Regions from separate parts of the Homo sapiens genome. Here all the other regions are linked to region 1. The links are contacts of gene promoters, found by promoter capture Hi-C in human tissues and cell types (Jung and others, 2019). All regions are on one chromosome and are shown on one strand. Each heading gives the region's core, a stretch centred on a gene start or on the middle of the fragment in contact. The rest is flanking DNA. Distances are from core to core; before and after follow the strand shown. Region 1 holds the start of RAB3D (RAB3D, member RAS oncogene family). Region 2 holds the start of TMED1 (transmembrane p24 trafficking protein 1). Region 3 has its middle 7.3 kb from the start of ZNF441. Region 4 overlaps SMARCA4 (SWI/SNF related BAF chromatin remodeling complex subunit ATPase 4).

The links. The method cuts DNA at HindIII sites, captures the fragments that hold promoters and counts their contacts. A contact is called where the count stands out against the background at its distance.
Region 2: a contact is called between the fragment with the promoter of TMED1 here and the fragment with the promoter of RAB3D in region 1, in 1 of the 25 tissues and cell types used here (dorsolateral prefrontal cortex).
Region 3: a fragment that was not itself captured here is called in contact with the fragment with the promoter of RAB3D in region 1 in 1 of the 25 tissues and cell types used here (dorsolateral prefrontal cortex).
Region 4: a contact is called between a fragment that was not itself captured here and the fragment with the promoter of RAB3D in region 1, in 1 of the 25 tissues and cell types used here (dorsolateral prefrontal cortex).

Annotation. Positions count from the first base shown.
Region 1 is chr19:11,338,211-11,341,083 of GRCh38, reverse strand. RAB3D (RAB3D, member RAS oncogene family) reads left to right here and starts at 1,427. Exons shown (of 5, transcript NM_004283.4): 1 at 1,427-1,615. RefSeq lists a silencer at 1,385-1,644. The HindIII fragment of the contact is 13,813 bases long and covers 1-1,634 here.
Region 2 is chr19:10,834,809-10,837,681 of GRCh38, reverse strand. TMED1 (transmembrane p24 trafficking protein 1) reads left to right here and starts at 1,470. Exons shown (of 4, transcript NM_006858.4): 1 at 1,470-1,673; 2 at 2,329-2,426; 3 at 2,565-2,748. The coding sequence starts at 1,491. It also overlaps a transcript of C19orf38 not described here. RefSeq lists enhancers at 1,196-1,295, 1,061-1,697, 2,335-2,873. The HindIII fragment of the contact is 15,983 bases long and covers 1-2,873 here.
Region 3 is chr19:11,758,266-11,761,138 of GRCh38, reverse strand. No RefSeq gene overlaps it. Among named protein-coding and RNA genes, the nearest start is that of ZNF441, 7.3 kb to the left of the region's middle. The HindIII fragment of the contact is 5,499 bases long and covers 1-2,873 here.
Region 4 is chr19:11,029,181-11,032,053 of GRCh38, reverse strand. SMARCA4 (SWI/SNF related BAF chromatin remodeling complex subunit ATPase 4) reads right to left here. Exons shown (of 35, transcript NM_003072.5): 25 at 1,161-1,324. Among named protein-coding and RNA genes, the nearest start is that of LDLR, 59 kb to the left of the region's middle. The HindIII fragment of the contact is 7,365 bases long and covers 1-2,873 here.

The DNA of each region.
Region 1 (2,873 bases), core at 178-2,677:
CTAGGCTGGCCTTGAACTCCTGAGCTCAAGGAATCCTCCTGCCTCAGCCTCCCAAAGGGCTGGGATTACAGGCATCAGACACTGTGCCCAGCCTCATTTATTTTTTAATTTTTTTTTTTTTTTTTTTGAGACAGAGTCTCACTCCATCGTCTAGGCTGGAGTGCAGTGGCGCGATCTCGGCTCACTGCAACCTCCACCTCCTGGGTTCAAGCGATTCTCCTGCCTCAGCCTCCCAAGTAGTTGGGATTACAGGTGTGCACCACCATGCTCGGCTAATTTTTGTATATTTATTTATTTATTTGAGACAGAGTTTCGCTCTTTTTGCCCAGGCTGGAGTGCAGTGGCGTGATCTCGGCTCACTGCAACCTCCGCCTTCCGGGTTCAAGCAATTCTCCTGCCTCAGCTTCCAGAGTAACTGGGATTACAGGCATGCGTCACCACGCCTGGCTAATTTTGTATTTTTTAGTAGAGACAGGGTTTCTTCACGTTGGCCAGGCTAGTCTCGAACTCCCGACCTCAGGTGATCTGCCCACCTCGGCCTCCCAAAGTGCTGAGATTACAGGTGTGAGCCACCGTGCCCAGCCCCTAATATTTGTATTTTTTTTTTTTTTTTTTTAGTAGAGATGAGGTTTCACCATGTTGGCCAGGCTGGTCTTAAATTCCTGACCTCAAGTGATCCGCCTGCCTTGGCCTCCCAAAGTACTGGGATTACAGGCATAAGCCACCGCGCCCAGCTCTCGTTTATTTTTATTTATTTGAAACAGGGTCTTGCTCTGTTGCCCAGGCTGGAGTGCTGTGGTGCAATCAAGGCTCACTGCAGCCTCGATGTCTCCAGCAATCCTCCTGCCTCAGCCTCCCAAGTAGCTGGGGTTACAGACGCACGCCACCACACCTGGCTAATTTTTGTTATTTTTAGTAGAGATGAGGTCTCCTTACGATGCCCAAGCTGGTCTCAAACTCCTGGCCTCAAGTGATTCTCCTGCCTCGGCCTCCCAAACTGCTGTAATTACAGGCCACCGCGCCTGGCCTAGCCTACTTTAAGGCCGGCACTGCACTTGACAAACACTAACTCAGATCAGAATCCTCCCACAACTCTGTGAGGTTGGGTACTCTCGCTATGAGCTACTTGACGGATGGGGAAACTGAGGCTCAAAGAGGTTAAGTAACGCGTCCAAAGCCACAAGACTAGAAAGTGGTGGAGCTGGGACTCGAACCAGGCCCAAGACTCTATGCTTTTAACAGCCGTGCGTATAGTAGAAGCTCTTTACAAGCAGCTGGGAAAATGAGATGTTGCTTGGCTAGGACGGGCTCTAGACGCTTGGTGCAGCTTCCAGCCCCTCCCACCCGCTCTCTGAAAGCCCCGCCCAAGACTCGGCCCCTCTTCGTCCTCCCCCATCCCCCGCTCCGGGAACGGCCCTTCCTCCGCCTTCTGGGCGGAGCCCGCGCGGGATCCGGGTGGCTGCAGGCTGCTGGCTTCTGCGGCTGCGGGGTCGGGGTCGCGGCCAGGGCCAAGCCGCAGCGAGTTCACAGGCGGAACCCCTGCAGGCGGCGCCCCCTACGCGAGGTCACCCCTGGGAAGGAGCGCAGCCCACCCGGCCCCTCCGCATCCGAGCAGGTCTGTGGGGTACGGGGGTTTGGGAGGAAGGTAGGGGGTCTGGGGAACAAAGGCGGGGCTGCGGGGAACGCCTCTGCCCTCGCCCCCACCCAGCTGGGCACTTGGGAAGCGCTGATGGGGCGCGGGCGGGGCAGAGAGCCCAGCTGGGGACAGGCGTTGGGACCATATGGTGATGGGGGAAACTCCTGAGTCCACCTGCATTGGCTGGGGCGCCCCAAATCTAGTGAAGGGGAACAGAGGCGAGCCCTCCGGGGCCAGGCTTGAGGGAGGGTCGGCAGATGGTTAGAAAGAGGCGGGACCGACTGACACAGGTGAGCTAAGGCTGGGGGAGGTGGGGGCCCCAGCCTTGCGGCCCTGCCCTGCGTGGGGAAAGGTTTCCTGCCTCTTCTCTTCCCCTCCTTAAACTCGTTCTCCTGGAACACGGGGTGGGGCCGGTTGGGTCCTGGTTTAAAATGGAAAAAAGCCCCAAAGGCAGTTGAGAAATAGCTGTGCCAGGGCTGTCTCTGCCTCTGCCCCGCCTGCATCCAGGCCTTCTGCAGCCTCTCCGTGCGGTTCCCGCAGCGGCCATAGACAGCTGGGGAAACTGAGGCCTGGGAGAGGTTATGAGGGTTGAGGGAGCACCTTGGACTCGGATGAAGCAGCATGTTGGAGTGTGGGCAGATTCAAGGAGCCTAGCCGTGGGACAGATTGCCTGGAAAGACCAAGGGTGGGCGGCAGTGGTCGTGGTGGTGGGGTTGTGTTAATTAAGTGGCTGGGATCGTTTCCTTGGGTATAAGGACTCTCACTCCTGCCTCCGTGGACTGGGGCTGGAGTGAGTCAGCCTTGGGCAGAAGGAGACAGGCCTGGCCCCTTTGACAAATAGAAAATAGCAGTACCCATTTAGGGGGTAGAACTGGACTCTAAACCTGGGCCCTGTACATAGAAAACCCCTTCCCCTTGGAACTCAGAGAAGGGGTTGTATTTGGCATGAGTTGGTGGGCGGCAGGCGCCCCAGTGGCTGACACCTGCCAAAGTCAACACCCAAGCCTTAATCAGGGGCTCTATCCAGCTTATCCAGCTGGCAGGTCCTCCCCCCACCCCACCCCAGCTTACACCTGGGCCACACCGGCTGCACACGCTGGGGCGAAGTCCACACCTGTGCCTTCTCCAGAATCTAGTTCTGCAGGGGCCAGAGCCCCTTACCCTCGGCCTTGCACTTGAACCCTTTGCTAGGCCTCTGGGTTTCCAGATAGGAAAGGTCTCCCCACCCTCCACCCCA
Region 2 (2,873 bases), core at 221-2,720, 500 kb after region 1:
CAAAAAATTAGCCAGGTGTGGTGGCACGTGCCTGTAGTCTCAGCTACTCGGAAGGCTGAGGCAGGAGGATCGCTGGAACCCCAGGAGACGGAGGTTGCAGTGAGTCGAGATCGCGCCACTGCACTCTAGCCTGGGCAACAGAGGGAGACTCTGTCTCAAAAAAAAAAAAAAAAAAAAAGGAAAAAAAAATTAAAAAAAAAAAGAAAAAAAAGAAAAGGAGTCACCCGTTCTCCACTGTTACTTCAAATTGTCCAAGCAGTGAGTGTAAATGATAGAAAAAGTTGGAGTGAAAAGGAATACCAAACTGATATTACAAAGAGCTACTTCCCCAAATTCTCCAAATGCAGGAAAGTGCTGACAACAGCCAGCTGTATTTGAGGGATCTTTGTCATCACCTGCCAACCTTTTCCGGGTTTATCTTTGAAGACTAAACATCTCCCTGTACACAGTTTATGTTTAGACGGGAACCAAATAACAGATTATTATTTACTGAGGGCCTGTGATGTCCCACGCACTGCGGAAGCAAGCACTCAACAAGCATTTCACGTATCCTAAAGACAGCCCAGTAGCGTAGGCCTATTATCCCCATTTTGCAGAAGAGGAAACTGAGGCTCAACAGAGGGAATGCCTCAAGTAATGGGTGGGGCAGGAGCTGAACCAGGCAACGTGGCTCCCAGTCCCACACTGTCCTTATCTCTTCCTACCTGGGCTGTCGTTTTTCTGACCCGAGGCTACTGTAATGGCTCTATTTACCTGCTGGCCCTTGAGTCTGAGACCCTTGGGGTGCATGGTGGGGCCACGCCCCTCCACTGTCTATAAGCCAGGAAAGCTGAGCACTCAATATGAACCAAGCCTCATCTCAATTCTCACAGCCGCACTACAGGGTGGTCGTTCCATCACTCCCGACTTACGAGGAAACTGATACGCTGATGCCTCTAAGGCGCAAAAGGCGTCGAACCTGGACCACGCTCACAGAGCAAGCAAAACACGACGCCACAGGTATCTCCGCCCCGCCCCAGCCCTTTTATAGGCGAGCCCTACGGGTCGCGTACAGGGCCACGCCTAGACGCTATTTTTGGGTCCACTCCACCACGTCGGTCCCGCCAAAGGTTGTCACGCGCGGCGCACTCTGGGAAAACCACGTGGAGGTGACTAAAAAGGACCCTGCCGCCTGTAACTTTAGTTGTCTTAGCTACTGCCTACAAAAGATGCGCCATCATGGCACTTATTTTTGTAATTTTCCTCCACCAGCGGCCGAGAAGAGAGCCGAAGCCTTTGAGAAAAATATTCCCAGACGGTTGAGTGTTTCTGGGCACATCAGGCATTCATTCGGGCCGCCTGCCCTCTAGTGGGGGGGTCCTTCACTCCTGGCACCTCTGGTTACGGACAACATACAGAAGCCACTGCCAATGAGCTCCGCCGAGTAGCACCGGGGCAGGGCTAGCGCTTAAAGGAGCCGCGACCCCTTTGCAGACCAGAGGGTGACCCGGATGATGGCGGCCGGCGCGGCCCTAGCCCTGGCCTTGTGGCTACTAATGCCACCAGTGGAGGTGGGAGGGGCGGGGCCCCCGCCAATCCAGGACGGTGAGTTCACGTTCCTGTTGCCGGCGGGGAGGAAGCAGTGTTTCTACCAGTCCGCGCCGGCCAACGCAAGCCTCGAGACCGAATACCAGGTAGAGGGTCGCGGGCTGGGCGGCCAGCAGAGTCAGGGAGAGGGGGCGTGGCCAAGCGGTCGAGGCGAGGCGCGCTTTAGGAGGAAGGGGGAGGAATCCGTGCTTGGGAGCGCGGGGGCGGAGCTAGAAAGAGATGGACAGATGGGGCGGGGACGGTGTGTGGGAGCGGAAGGGGAGGGAGTAATGAAGCAGGCGGGGCTAGAGTAAGAGATCCAGAGGGGGCGGGGCCATCGATAAGTATAGGGAGCCTCTGAGAGGACAGGACTCTGGCTGGTGGGCGTGGCGATAGTGCTGATAGGTCAACTGCGGGGGCGTTGCCCACACAGGCCTTTCTCGGGGGTTAGACTAAGGAAAAAGGCTGGGCCTATCCTCTTTCGGAGGCGGAGCCAACCAGGGGCGTGGTCAGGTAAACGTCCATTAAGTACTTTTGGTAGGTGCGTGGTCAGCTGAAAGTATGGACCCCAAGCTGTCATATCAATGAGGGTGGAGGCAAGGGGCGCAGCCACTGGGACAGGTTGGGGCGGGTGTGGGTGTGCCGCCGTTCAGGTAAGCCCTTGGTGGTCTGTATTGATCAGTGTTGGTTCAGCCGTAGCCCTCTTCGGCAGGCGCCCTTGGCCTACCGCTAGCCCTCCACCCGCTCTTACCTGCCCCCCAGGTGATCGGAGGTGCTGGACTGGACGTGGACTTCACGCTGGAGAGCCCTCAGGGCGTGCTGTTGGTCAGCGAGTCCCGCAAGGCTGATGGGGTACACACGTGAGTTCAGTCTTGATGCCTGCCTGGGTTCAGTTACAGCCCTGCCCTTCCCAGGCGGCCTCAGGTTACCGCCCTGACTGCCCCGCTGAGTCGGCTGGCTGGCCACCCTGGGTCATGTCTGTGTGTCTGTCTGCCCAGGGTGGAGCCAACGGAGGCCGGGGACTACAAGCTGTGCTTTGACAACTCCTTCAGCACCATCTCCGAGAAGCTGGTGTTCTTTGAACTGATCTTTGACAGCCTCCAGGATGACGAGGAGGTCGAAGGATGGGCAGAGGCTGTGGAGCCCGAGGAGATGCTGGATGTTAAAATGGAGGACATCAAGGTGTGTCCAGGCTGCGCTGGGGCCACTCCTTCCAGATCTCTAGGATTCACCTGGGGTGCCCCCCTTGGGCTGACCCAGCCTCCCCTCCGTAGTTGTGCCCTCCAACTGAATTATAGTAAGAGTAG
Region 3 (2,873 bases), core at 99-2,598, 420 kb before region 1:
GAAAGCCTTCTTGGTCATGGGGGCTGTGCAGAGTTTCTAGGTGGTTGAAGGTATCACATGGAGAATGGGCTGAATGTGGTAGCTCAGGTTCCCTTCTTTTTTAATATGGCCATCAGTCCCACTCCTGAGATAACTCATTAATTCAGTAAGCCATGAATTCATGAATGGATTAATTTATTTATGAGGTCTGAACCCTTAAGATCTACTCACCTCTTAAAGGCCTCACCTTTCATTAGTGCCACATTGGCGATTATGTTTCAACAAGCATTTTGGAGGGGACAAACATTCAAACCTAGCAGTGAATGGCCGGGCGCGGTGGCTCACTCCTGTAATCCCAGCACTTTGGGAGGCTGAGGTGGGTGGATCACGAGGTCAAGAGATCGAGACCATCCTAGCCAACATGGTGAAACCCTGTCTCTACTAAAAATACAAAAATTAGCTGGGCATGGTGGTGTGCGCCTGTAATCCCAGCCACTCGGGAGGCTGAGGCAGGAGAATCGCTTGAACCCAGGAGGCGGAGGTTGCAGTGAGCCGAGATTGCGCCACTGCACTCCAGCCTGGAGACAGAGCAAGACTCTGTCTCAAAAAAAACAAAAACAAAAACAAAAACAAGCAAAAAACCTAGTAGTGAATGATCAGGTATGCTCCCTCTGCCAAGCATATCACAAAAGTTTGAACTCTCAGAGGGAACATAGGAGTTCAGCAGATACCATATTTTTTACATAGTTTAGGGACACTCATCCTCCATTATCGCTTATGTTGGTGAAGCCCCCTAACTAAATTTAGTTCCTAGATATAGTGAAAGGTTCAACTTTGTGAGCAAGCATTTGTAACAATATGCGGTCTCAGGACAGCTGATGTTAACTCTTCTGCCCATTAGGTAGGAGGACTTTGTCACATCAGGAATTACAAACATCCTGTACACATAGATATTAGGGGTGATCTAGGCAATAAATGTCACTCCTTTAACTCACCAAGGAGTGGCATTTTATAATTCGACTGTTATTTTACCAAACACGTTTAATTCTAGCATTAGAATTGCATTCTGGGAGAAAATGAGTTTAGAAAGAGGGTAAGAGTTGGATTACCGTGTCGTTGCATAAATGTTTGGACACCACAGCATCATGTGACATTTATGTAGTGAGTACAGATTCCCAGTGCTGTCAGTTTCAGCTTTCCTCCTCTGCACGTGTCGGGTGTTTCAGGACTCAGTGGCCTTTGAGGATGTGGCTTTGATCTTTTGCCTGGGAGGAGTGGGCTTTGCTGGGTCCATCATAGAAGAGTCTCTACAGAGATGTGCTACGGGAAACCATCAGGAACCTAGACTGTATAGGTAAGGGGGACATCATGTCTTTACTTAGTCAATTACGAATATTTGTTTCTTCGTCACCAATGCTGTTCAAAGATTTAGAATATAAAAGAAATACGTTTGACCCTTGAACAATGCAGGGATTAGGGGCACCAGCCCTCAATGCAGTCACAAATCTTCAAATAACTTTTTTCTCCCCCGCAACTTGACTACTAATAGCCTACTGTTGACCAGAAACCTTACTGGTAAGATATACATTCAATTAACACATATTTTATATGTCATATGCATTACATATTGTTTTCTCACAATAAACTAAGGCAGAGAAAAATGTTAATCAGAAAATCACAAGGAGAAAAAACTATATTTACTATTTCATTAAGTAGAAGTGGAGCATCATAAATGTTATCATCCTTATTGTCTTCACATTGAGTAGGCTGAATAAGAGGAGGGGTTGGTCTTGCTGTCTCAGTAGTAGCAGAAACTGAAGAAAATTTGTATGTAAGGAGATCTATGCAGTTCAAACCTGTGTTGTTGAAGAGTCAACTGTGGTTTGGTGAATAAATCATCCATAACTGCAGTCTACATAAAATCTTACATTTTTAATATAATTTTATTTTTATTTATTATTATTTTTTTTTTGAGATGGAGTCTTGCTCTGTCACCCAGGCTGGAGTGTAGTGGCACGATCTTGGCTCACTGCAGCTTCTGCCTCCTGGGTTCAACTGATTCTCCTGCCTCAGCCTCCCGAGTAGCTGGGACTACAGGCGCACGCCGCCATGCCCGGCTAATATTTTTTTGTATTTTTTAGTAGAGACGGGGTTTCACTGTGTTGCCCAAGCTTGTCTCGAACTCCTGAGCTCAGACGATCCACCCACCTCGGCCTCCCAAAGTGCTAGGATTACATGCGTGAACCACCGCCCCCGGCCTCAATGTAATTTTATAATAATATATAGTGATTCTTCTGGGTCTACATTTTAGGAATGAAATGGGAAGACCAAAACATTAAAGATTAGTACAAAATTCCCAGAAGAAATCTAAGGTAATTTGCCCTAGGAAGAGAAAGATATGTCTTTGGAATAATTCTTAAAGTGACAGGAAATTTTTCACACCTATAATTCCAGCACTTTGAAAGGGTGGGGGGGTGGGGCGCAGTTCAGGAGGTCGGGAATTCGAGACCAGTCTGGCCAACATAGTGAAACCCTGTCTCTACTAAAGATACAAAAAATTAGCCAGGCGTGGTGGTGTGAACCTGTAGTCCCAGCTACTTAGGAGGCTGAGGCAGGAGAATCGCATGTACCCGGGAGGAGGACGTTGCAGTCAGTCGAGATCATGCCATTGCACTCCAGCTCAGGCGAAAGTGCAAGACTCCGTCTAAAAAAAAAGACAGGAAAATTTTAAAACAAGCAAAATAAATAAATAAATAAATAAATAAAAAAGAATAATCCTGGCTTAAATTTATTCACTCTTAGAAAATTTTCTTCAAAAACATACTTAAATGGGACATAGCTGTTAAGTGTGTCTGCAAAATAATTTCCTTGGAAAACAGTACTAAGAATTCCCA
Region 4 (2,873 bases), core at 130-2,629, 310 kb after region 1:
AGGGTCTGGGCAGAAGCTACACCCCAGCCTGATCGTAAAAGGGGCCACCAGTGACCACCACGGCATTCACCCATCAGACAAGCGACAATTTACACACTGAGAACGCTGCTGCCCTCACGCTGCAGGGAAGGGCAGGGTACATTCACACCCCAGCGTAGGAGTGAAACCACTTTGGCAGTAGCAACCAGAACACGAAGAGGACAATGTCTGGGGTGGAGCGACCCCATGTCTGAGGGCTGCGCAGACCTAGGGTGTTTGCACAAGCACTCTGAGAGAAAGAGGGACCCTGCTGGGTTGGTGACCAGGCTGATCAACAGAAAAGACGGATGCCTGCCAACCAGAGTTTGAGAGCAGACGTCCAGGGGTGGCCATCTGCCGGGACGCCTGGTGGCCGATTAGATGGCTGGGTAGCTTCCGATGTGCACTCGGCGGTTGACACCCACTGCTTGGTGGAAGAGGCACATGCTAGGCCACGCCGCATCTGTGTTAATCTCAGTACATACATGTGCGAAGGCAGATGGGCTGGCAGAGGCTCAGAAGAGAGCACGGTTGGAGAGGAAGGGAAAAGGGACTCCTGACTGTCACTGGTGTTTACATGTTAAAAACAATAAGAACTTATCAGTCTTATAATGAAACACAGAGAAAAGTTTAACTCATTTTCAAATTCTTGTAGCTATGTAACAGCATGACCTGGTATCCACCGATGCCGAGGCCCATGAGGGGTACATGGTTATGGAACAAGAGGAGGAAGTAAACGAAGTGGCATGGAGTTTACCCCCAATTGTGTCTGAACAAGCGCCAGTGTGTGTGCTCACAGGGCACACTGCAGGGGCCGCCCCACAGTGACGGCGCAGATTGATCAGGATACTTTCCACCTCCTCATGGGTGCCATTCCAAGATTTAAGAAAAACCAAACCGACGGATGGCTTATACACTGCTTTCCCAATCAGAGGGAAAGGCTGTTTGTATTTTGGGAAACAGGAGGACCCCGCCTCTTTTCTCCCTGATGACCTATGGAGATATGGGTGCAGCTCCTCCCGGCTCCTGGGGTCCAAGACAATGTGGAGGAGGCTGGAGGACCCTCAAGCCAGGGCCGTCTCCTCGAGGTTTTGCAGGCACCCCCTTCCTTCTCCTCGACCTGGGGCCCGGCCCGCTTTTACCTGGTGAGGATTCCAGTCGCTGTCAAAAATGATCACAGTGTCTGCCGACTGGAGGTTCAGGCCGAGCCCCCCAGCCCGGGTGCTGAGCAGGAAGATGAAGTACTCAGAGCCGGGCTCGTTGAAGGTTTTCAGCAGCATGCCCCGGTCCTCCGCCTTCGTGGTTCCTGACGGGCACAGAGGAGAACAGGGTCAGCGGGGTGACCTCAGGGGTAGAGTGGGGACACCAAGGAACACCTGCTTCTGAGAGCAGGAGCAGGATCAGCACCTGCCAGCATCCCCAGATCCCTGGCTCCGCACTCTCCACACGGGCCTGTGGGCCACTGGCGAATAACTGGATTTCCAGTGTTTCACCACAAAACGTCTCTCCACACATCCCAGAAATGAAAACAGGCCCCGCTGGGAGAACTAGAGGAGGTGGGCCTGGAGCACAGAGTCCAGCACCCAGCCCACAGCTAGGCCACAGCGTCCAGCGTCAGCACAGCCACCACCACCACAGCCCTGGATTCTCTCCTCTACTCTACCCTGTGCCATTCCATGGGGAGCGGAAGACACAGCGGCCAATGCCGGCAACACCGCCGCTCGCAACACAAGGGACCTGGGGGTGGGTGGACAGTGACTGTGGGTGCACCTGCCTTCAGCCCTGTCTCAAAAAGTTTTGTGGTTCACAAAGAGAATCTTCTACGGTAAAAGCATGGAGACCTTATAAAGGGGGCTCGTGTCCTTTCTGGCAGGATCAGTGTCCCCATGCCCCAGAAAACCCAAGTCAAGGAGCCAGAGCAGGTCTCCTGGGTGACAACCCACGATGCCCTCAGCGTTGTGGGCATTAAGGCAATGTCAACACTCCCTGCGCTGCTGGGAGTTCGGACAGAGGTGCCCCTGAACACTGAAGTCATTTTGGTGATGAAATAAAAACTGGCAGGCCGGGCGCGGTGACTCATGCCTGTAATCCCAACACTTTGGGAGGCTGAGGTGGGTGGATCGCCTGAGGACAGGAGTTCGAGACCAGCCTGGCCAACATGGTGAAACCCCGTCTCTACTAAAAATACAAGAAAATTAGCTGGGCGTAGTGGCGGGCGCCTGTAATCCCAGATACCAGGGAGGATGAGGCAGGAGAATCGCTTGAATCCAGGCGGCGGAGGTTGCAGTGAGCTGAGATCATGCCACTGCACTCCAGCCTGGGCAACAAGAGTGAAACTCCGTCTCAAAAAAAAGAAGAAATAAAAACTGGCCATTTCCTGCCACCAGCCTACACATGCCCAGGCACGGTGCAGAAGCCCACAGTAGCCTGGCCATCCACCTGCCGTCCCACCCTCTCTCAGGCACCAGATGTGCCCCTGCTACTCCAGCTCGGAGGAGGGGCTGAGGTGAGGGGCCACCCGGCTCCCAGATGCCAGCCCACCCATGGGAGATGCAGTCTCAGGAGACTTCACTGAGCTCCTACCCTTCCTCTACTCGCAATGGATTCTCTGGCCCTGTGGCCATGACCACATCACATGCAGAGGACACATCTGTAGTTCAACTGACCAAAGTCCTTGTCCTTATGGAGTAGGCAGAAGGGCACTGGGATGGGTGGGAACCAGGCTCTCTCCTGGGGGAGTCAGGGACACGACACAGACGGGATGGCCCTCAGGAAGCCTTGGCCCTCTCGAGGACGGGAGAAGCCGCTGGAGAGACCGTAGGAGAGGAAAGGGTGGGGGGTGGCCCGGCCATGAG